2 separate regions of the Homo sapiens genome follow, and region 1 is linked to region 2. The links are contacts of gene promoters, found by promoter capture Hi-C in blood cells and fetal thymus (Javierre and others, 2016). All regions are on one chromosome and are shown on one strand. The core of a region is centred on a gene start or on the middle of the fragment in contact, and the rest is flanking DNA. Distances in the headings are between cores, read along the strand shown. Region 1 holds the start of MORC2 (MORC family CW-type zinc finger 2). Region 2 holds the start of PLA2G3 (phospholipase A2 group III).

Region 1 (4,349 bases), core at 1,850-4,349, 170 kb after region 2:
AAGCCACAGAGCAGCAGTTCCAAAGTAGAATGAGAGTATGAACAAAAGTGCAGAGATGGTAAAGGATAAGGCATTTTGGAAAATGGCAAGTACCATAATTCACTTTGGATGGAGCATCCTCAGTTTGCACTGAGGGTCTGGACAGAAACTCAGGTCTTCTAATTCCCAGTAACAGTGCTGGTGGTAGTGCTTGCTCAGTCGTTGTCTCTTTTCTCACAGCAAGGTCAACAGTCCCAAAATTCAAAAATAAAAAAAAATCTACCTCCAGTGTTCCTGCCGCATCGTGACAAGCTCTTTCGGGTTCCAGGTCCAGGTCTTGAAAATCTGGAAATCTGGAGTCCATGGCTGTGGCTACACTGAAAGTTATCTGCTCCAACTATTGCAGAACACTGTAGTGAAATCTTTTCAACCTCCAATCCTGGACATCTCATGTTTTGCCACAGAATTTCAAGCTTTGAGTTCCAGTTGTTTTTTTTCCCTCCTTTCTGCTGAGGAAAGCATCTTATCACCACAGTCTTAAGTCTTTTGAGGTACATCCGGATTTAATTACAAAAGAGCAAAAAGACCAACACTTTTTTTTCTCCAAGTCATTTCTCTGGAAGTGAGATTATCTGTCTCTGCCCTTTAGGAAAAGGGAATAGTCAATTGATTTTTTCAGACATTTGAATGAAATAGCATAACTGGCTAACATCTAATCAGACAAAATACACTTAAATGTGTTTGTGTTCACTTGCTTAGGGCTGTACCACTTGGTGAGCACCACTCCACAAAACGAAAATGTTTGAAATCCAATTGTTCAAACATTTTTATAGTGTTTGTTGGATAATGGCCTGAAATTTGATAAAAGCAGCTGACAACTAACAAAGAAGCAAAAACTGGCATCTTGGACATCCTAGTATTACACTTGCAAGCAATTAGAACACAAGGAGGGCCAAGGAAAAAGTTTAGCTTTGAATCACTTCCAAATCTACTGATTTTGAGGTTCCGCAGTAGTTCTAACAAAACTTTTCAGACAATGTTAACTTTCGATTAAGAAAGAAAAAAACCCCAAACATCTTCAGGAATTCCATGCCAGGTTCAGTCTCTTCCAGTGAGCCCGCTTGCTAAAAGTCCACGTGCACCATTAATTAGCTGGGCTGGCAGCACCATGTAAAAAGAAGCCTATTCACCACCAACCACACAGCCTAGACATGTAAAGTAGGATCAAGTAATGGATGACAACCATGGTCGTGGAATATGGTCAATGAGAGTCAGAAAAGTACAGGCACCAGTACAAGCAGCAGATAACAGAGTTGACGGGCCAAAGGATAAAATAGGCTTATTTAAATAGGATGCTACAGAACACATCCACTCCTAATTGTAGCTGCTTTACACTGGGTGCCATTGTACCATATGCATCAGCCACCCTTCAGGCACCCCATGGTGAAAGAAAAGGATTCAGAATAGAAGCCAAGCAGGGGACTGTTGTTAACCCCGAATATCCATTATGCATAGAAACAGCTCACATATCCCAGGGACTCAAACAGGGCTTCAAAATGGTTGTGAAGGGTCCCAAATGACATCTAGGCCTCAGTTTCCTCTCTGTAGCATGAAGAAATTGTGATTCTTAACTCTTCTGGGTCACAGCCCCCTTGGAAAACTTGCTAGCGATGGATCATCATTCCCCTAAAACGCACATTCCCACAAATTCCCATCATTCCCCCAAACCGCACATTCCCACAATTTCAGGAAGTTTGGGGATCCCCAACTCCAATCCAAGGTTCCCAGGTTCAAAACCCAAGGATTGGGGAACTGCTAAGTTTTCTTACAACTCAAAAAAAATTATAAACAATAACCATCCTTTACGTACACCCACGCTTTATAGTTTACAAAGCGATTTCAACCCCACACACATTGATAGGCAGAGGAGGAAACTGAGGCGCAGACAAATTACAGAGTGACTCGCCTAAGGTCACTCCGCCAACTGGTGGCTAGGCCCGGAAGAAAACCCAGCTCTTCCGACTCCGGAGCTCGTCTCCCCACCCCGGGGCTGCCGCCAGAGCTCCCGCCCCTCACTAAGGCGGCATAAGGAGGAAAAGGCAAAGTAGAAATCCCACAACCAACCATCCTCCGGCCCCCTCCTGCCCCCCCAACTGGGTCCTTGCAGGCCCCGAAGGGTGGCGCCAGGCCTCCAAGCCGGCCCCGGCCACCCCCGCCTCCCCGGCCGCTCCAAATCCCGCGGCCGCTGCCGCCGCCGCCTCCCCCGGAGCGGGGCGGAGCAGCTGCCCGCCGCCGCCGACCACCCGGACGACTCCTCGTCGAATCGCAAACGCATAGGCCGCCGCCCGAGTTCTGCGTACGAGAAGAAAGACGCGGCGCGAGCGCCAACGGCCACCGGGCGCGCGCCGCGGCGGCCGGGCCTGCGCCCCAAGAGCTGGATGCCAGAGCAGGAGAAAGAGCCGCCAACCGATCGCTCGATCGACCGCACGCCCGTTCCTTCGCCCTACCAGACCCGGGAGGGGGGGAGGGCGCGCCAGGGCTTCTTCGATTTAGGGGCCTGACTCCCCGGCGACGAGACAAGATGGCTCCTCCGGTCCGCACCGCAGCTACCGTCCCGGCTGCGTCGCTCGGCCCGCCCCCGGTACTGTTTCTTTAAATGGCGGAGAGGGTCAGGAAAGCAGGAAGAGAGGCGCACGCTGTCACGTGACAGGGGCGGGACCGGCCAACCAAGATCCGGTCACATGGGGACACGCAGCCCGCCAATCAGGAGGCTGTACATCAGGGCGGGGGCGGGAGGAGCTGCAGCTTTGTGATTGGCTGAATGCTCCGCGGAGGCCTCGGGGGCTTGGGGCGTCGGGGAGTGTGCGAGGTGGCCGGGGCTGTGTGCACTATCGGAGACAAAGCGGTGGCTGTGGTGTCTGTGACGGCGGCGGCAGAGCAGCTCTAAACGCCGAATTTCGTGTTGCTGAATCCTGTCACCATCTCAACTAGCGCGGCGCGCGGGCGGCGCGCGGGCGGCGGCGGAGGCAGCGGCGGCGGCGGCGGAGGCGGCAGCAGCACATGGTTCCAAGAGCGCTCTGCGGCTGTTGGGTTCCAATTCCGCGGGGAGGGACAAAGGCAGTTGTGAGATCCGGGTAGTGCCCGGTCAGGTGGTGCGCTCGCCACTGCCCTCGATCCGGTCCTTGGAAGCCGGGAGTAGCTCCTCTTCGTGGGGAGGCGGCCACGGGACCGAGGCCCGGGAAGGGCCTGGGAGGCTGAGGCTGTTGTCTGAGGGACGTGGGGGCGGGGCGCGGCCTGCCCGAGGTGCTGTGGGCGGGTCATTTGTGAGGTGTTTATGTGGGCCAAGTGTGAGGTAATCTGACCACCACCCTGAACTGGGTTTGGTCCGGCTTTGAAAAAAGAAATCGTGAGTGCCTAGGAGCTTTTTCACTTGGGAGGTGGTGAAGCTGCAACTTGCGCCATATAACACTCCGTCGACATCTTGGTCTCCGGTCTTGGGCCTGTTTAAGAATCCTGGCATCACGTGTGGCGAAGACATGGCTGATCAGTTTTCTGACAGAAGTGGGTAAATTTCCGCGTTGGTAAATTTCCTGACAGGAAATTTCGGGGAACCAAAAAAGGCTGGAAGAACATGAAGATGGAGCAGTCATAAACCACCCACTCAAGGACCATCTCCTTCAGGACCATCCACACGAGACTCAGATTGTCTGAATTGAGCTATCGCAACTTAATGCTAAAAGCTCCTTAAAGCTACAGATTTATGACATAGTTCCTTCCAAAATATTACATCATAAATCATTGAGAAGATTAAAAAAAAACACTTGAAGAAATTGTAGTTTTAAACATCTCTGCATATATTTTGGATAGCTACTAGGTTACTTTAACTGTCATTAAGGAGCACAGACTTACTGAAGCTTTACTGGACAGAATCCTGGGAAATCGATATCATTATAAGGTTATATTTCCCAGTTAGCGGGTGAAGGGCTGGAGACCTTATTGCAGTCATGGCTTTCACAAATTACAGCAGTCTGAATCGAGCTCAGCTAACCTTTGAATATCTGCACACAAATTCGTAAGTATCCTCTAGGTGCCACTGAGGTAACCAGTAACTCGTTCCTTGATATTATATGGAAATCGTTTCCCCAGAAAATTTTGCTTTTTCACTTTTTGAGATGTATCCCACTGGAGTGAAATGTGTCACTGGATATCTTGAGCTCTGTATTGAAGAACTGAGATCAGTGAAATACTTGTTGCTAATCCAGAAGAATCTGATTTTTGTTTATTGGATCAAAATTTTCTAAATGCAAACTTTAGTTATTTGAAGTCAATATGTTGAGTTGTTTCATTCAAGTGTTTATAGGAATCCAACA
Region 2 (3,783 bases), core at 838-3,337:
CCTCTGAGGGACACCCTGGTGGAAGGCAGGACTCTGAGCCTGTCTTGTGGCTGACTGACTTGTTTTTGGGTGGAGTCTGGACAGAAAGCTCAGTGACACCCTCCCTCGAGGCCTGGGCAAGCCCCAGCCTGATGTTCTTTGAGACCCAGACTGGAAAAGACCTCAAAGTTCAACTCCACTGTACTTCTCACTGTACAGTGGGGGAAACTGAGTCCCAGAAAGGGACAGGGACAAGCCTGGAGTGACCCAGGCAGGTAGTGTCCTGGCCACTGTTCCCACAGTTGCCATCTAGCCCGAGCTCTCAGATATCACAGATGCTGTGGCCCCAAAATCTTGGGACTTGCTTTCTCCTGAGTAAACTGCTTCCTGGCCAGGGGTATCCTGAGGCTTTAGTGATGGTGTTTTGGGTGCCAGGAACTGTGCTGGGAATCTTACCCAACATCCTGTGGAGTGACTACTGTGATTATGCCCATGATACAGATGAGGAAACTAAGACTCAGAGAAGTTAAGATTTCCAAGCCTAGGGTCTGTGTGGAAACCTAAGCTGGACCTGTCTGACCTCGAAAGCTTGGCTCCTCGTATCCTACCTCCCAGCCTCCCCAGGTGATGGGCAGGGAAGGGCTCAGCAATGTGGAAAAGGGGGCAGAGGTGGGTGGCAGTTCCTATGATGGGAGGAAGTCTCAGCATGATGATTTTTCAAACATCACAACTCTTCACAGAAGGACTCACCTTTGTTCAGCTACATCCTTGCCCTTGGGGACCCCAGGTCTACCTCCTCTGCCACCACTCGCTGTATTCCACACCCCCTTTCTCAACCTCTGGCAAGAAGGCGCTTGGTCCCTGGACTAGCCCTACCCTCTTTCCCTTCTCTTCATTGTTCCCAGCTATGATGCTTTGAGCCACAGGCCCAGGCTGGTTCTGAAGCTACAGAGATGGACCTGCCCACCCTGCAGCCCCCTTCCCCCTCTGCCACACAGTGAGCTCTCCTTCCCCAGCTCTGCCCCTGGCTTTACCTCACTGGGGCTCATCCCCTGGAAGAGACTCAGATGGAGCCTGGGGCAGGGGGAGGCTGGAGAAGCAGCAGGCTAATGGGCAGATGGAAGACAGACAAGTCACTGTCCTGGCCAGCCCTGACTCCCATCCAGATCCCCAAGCGCTGCATTCCCATCCTCTAAGCCCTCCCCAGCTGGAGCCTGTCACCTGAGGTTTTCCCACCCTCACTGAGCCTCAGTTTCTTCATCTGCACTATGGGTGTAAGCACCCTGGCCTCACTAGATGGTTGGAAGCTGGGCTTTGGGATCCAGGAACAATACCTGGGTATAGCCCCTTCCTGATGGAGAGATTCCTGTCTCATGAGGCACACATGATGCCTGCTGTGTCCCCCCAGGTGGCCAGGGATGGAGGTGGCCACAGACATACACCCTGGGCCACTCTCTGCCACTCTAGGGACCATAGTTCTTTCAAATCCAGAGCATCAGCCCTGCCCTGTGTGGCTCTCAAGGCCTGTTCCCGCTGCGTCTCCCCCAGTTATCAGACCAGGAGGGTTGCTGCAAGGCCAGGCCCATGCTTGGAGTCCTAGGAAGCGGGGAGCCCTGGGGCTCTGTCCCCTGAGTATGCCGAGAGCCTTTCTAAGAACCAGGACTTGGCAGGGGAGCACCCCAGGTGGCACTCCCTTTCCCAGAAGCCTTGGGAACTCCCAGGGTGGTAGCTTCAGAGCCCCAGCCCTTCCTTCACCCAGCCCTGGCAGAGGCCCATGGCCCCCTGCCAGCCTGATGGAGGTGGATGTGGCAGCCACCGCTGTGGTAAGGGTGAGAAGGGTGGGTTCTAAGGGACTCCTCCAAGCTCCTGAACCCTTTTCCTTCCCTTCAAGGAGATGTGAAAGCCCCAGCCTGGTCCCCATCCCACAGCTTAGGGCTTTGGCTCCCATAGTCCCAATCTAGGCAGGGCTGGCAGCAGGTGACTGGATGGTGCTGAGAAGGCAGGCAGAATGGGGGCGTGGGCCCTGGCAAGTGCACTCCTCAGCCAATCAGCGTCCTGCCCGGCTGGTGGATTCGGTTACAAGCCCAAGATCACCCCATACTCCAGCCTCTTTCCTCCTCCTCCCGCAGCTCCATTCATTGGTCCCGCCGCACCGGGCCTGCTGGGCTCCGCTTCCGTTCCACTGCTCAGCTGCCGCCTGGTGGGGCCACCAAGGGCAGGCATCCCAGGGGCTTTGTCTGACTGGACTGGGCCAGTGCAGAATGGGGGTTCAGGCAGGGCTGTTTGGGATGCTGGGCTTCCTGGGGGTGGCCCTGGGGGGCTCCCCTGCCCTCCGCTGGTACAGGACCTCCTGCCACTTGACCAAGGCCGTCCCTGGCAACCCACTGGGGTACCTGAGCTTCCTGGCCAAGGATGCTCAGGGACTGGCCCTGATCCATGCCCGCTGGGATGCGCATAGGAGGCTGCAGTCATGTAGCTGGGAGGATGAGCCGGAGCTCACCGCAGCCTACGGTGCTCTCTGTGCTCATGAGACTGCCTGGGGCTCCTTCATCCACACCCCCGGACCCGAGCTGCAGAGAGCACTGGCCACTCTTCAGAGTCAGTGGGAGGCATGCCGAGCGCTTGAGGAGAGTCCAGCAGGGGCCAGGAAGAAGCGAGCAGCAGGGCAGAGTGGAGTCCCTGGTGGAGGGCACCAGCGAGAGAAGAGAGGATGGACCATGCCTGGCACACTGTGGTGTGGAGTTGGAGATTCTGCTGGGAACTCCTCGGAGCTGGGTGAGCCATGAGGGGTGTGTGGGCTGGGGGGTCCGATCGGGGAAGCAAGGTTTCTTCAGCCCCAGCCCTTACTCTCCTAGGCTGTGTGTCCCTGGGGGAGTGACTTGACCATGGTGAACCTCAATTTCCTTATCTGTAAAGTGGGGGCAATCACGAATCTCATCATGGGGTGCTTAAATGAGGTCACGGTTGGGGAAAGTCTTATTCAAACCTGGGAGTCCTCATTAAATGCCATCCGAGGGACTGGGCAGGCTGGGGGAGGATCCAGGGTCAACTGAGCCAAAAAGCCATTACCCAGGAGGAGGCTTTGTGGGCACGGGGTGCCCAGTGGAATGGATGCTGAGACGAAAGGCCTGGGTTCAAATCCCAACTCAGCACATACAAGCTGAGCAAGTCACTTCCCCTCTCTGGACTTATTTCCTCACCTGTAAAATGAAGGTGATACCTCCCTTTCAGGGCTGGCTGTGAACCTGGATGTGGGAAGTGCCAGGCATGTGGGAAATGCTTAGTAAAGAGTGCTATTTTTTAGATGGTAATAAACATAGATGAATTTCTTGCACTATCAGTACAGATGTCTGTGCGTTTGTGTGCAGGGTTGGGGGAGGGCTTGGCACCTGAGTCAGAGTAGGTTGGCATCCTGGCGACACCTCCTTGTGCCAGTGAGAAAGGTTGCACCCTGCCTGTTTGCCATTCCATCATACACACATTCATAATTTTGGAGTTTTATTTGGGGCGTGGGCTTGGGAACTCTGGAGGCAGACTCCAATTCCCCTGAGGAAGACCTTTCCATGTATTTATGGGTGGGCTACCTGGCATTTAGAGTTGCCCAACAGAGGCTGCAGCTTGGCTTCTCTTTTCCAGCTTTGAAACTCTGAGAGTCCCACAGAAGGGAGAGTGACTGGTCTGAGGACCCTCATGGCGTTTGTGTCAGGGCTGGGGTGAGAACCAGGTCTCTGCCCTCTTCCTACCAGGGGGGCATAGCTGGTGCATGATGCCTAGGACCCTGCTGAGTTGGTGCCCTCTCCCCTC

Evidence for each region. Contacts are between HindIII fragments. The CHiCAGO score rates a contact against its expected background, and 5 or more counts as called.
Region 1: a contact is called between the fragment with the promoter of MORC2 here and the fragment with the promoter of PLA2G3 in region 2, in 1 of 17 cell types (endothelial precursors). The highest score is 5.0, in endothelial precursors.

The regions. Positions count from the first base shown.
Region 1 is chr22:30,967,524-30,971,872 of GRCh38, reverse strand. MORC2 (MORC family CW-type zinc finger 2) reads left to right here and starts at 3,099. Exons shown (of 26, transcript NM_001303256.3): 1 at 3,099-4,051. The coding sequence starts at 3,984. TUG1 (taurine up-regulated 1) reads right to left here and starts at 2,608. Exons shown (of 3, transcript NM_001396518.1): 1 at 94-2,608. The coding sequence starts at 2,516. The coding sequence ends at 2,055. RefSeq lists a silencer at 2,088-2,337 and an enhancer at 2,368-2,697. The HindIII fragment of the contact is 3,441 bases long and covers 455-3,895 here.
Region 2 is chr22:31,138,812-31,142,594 of GRCh38, reverse strand. PLA2G3 (phospholipase A2 group III) reads left to right here and starts at 2,087. Exons shown (of 7, transcript NM_015715.5): 1 at 2,087-2,754. The coding sequence starts at 2,241. RefSeq lists enhancers at 1,465-2,024, 2,025-2,583. The HindIII fragment of the contact is 15,707 bases long and covers 570-3,783 here.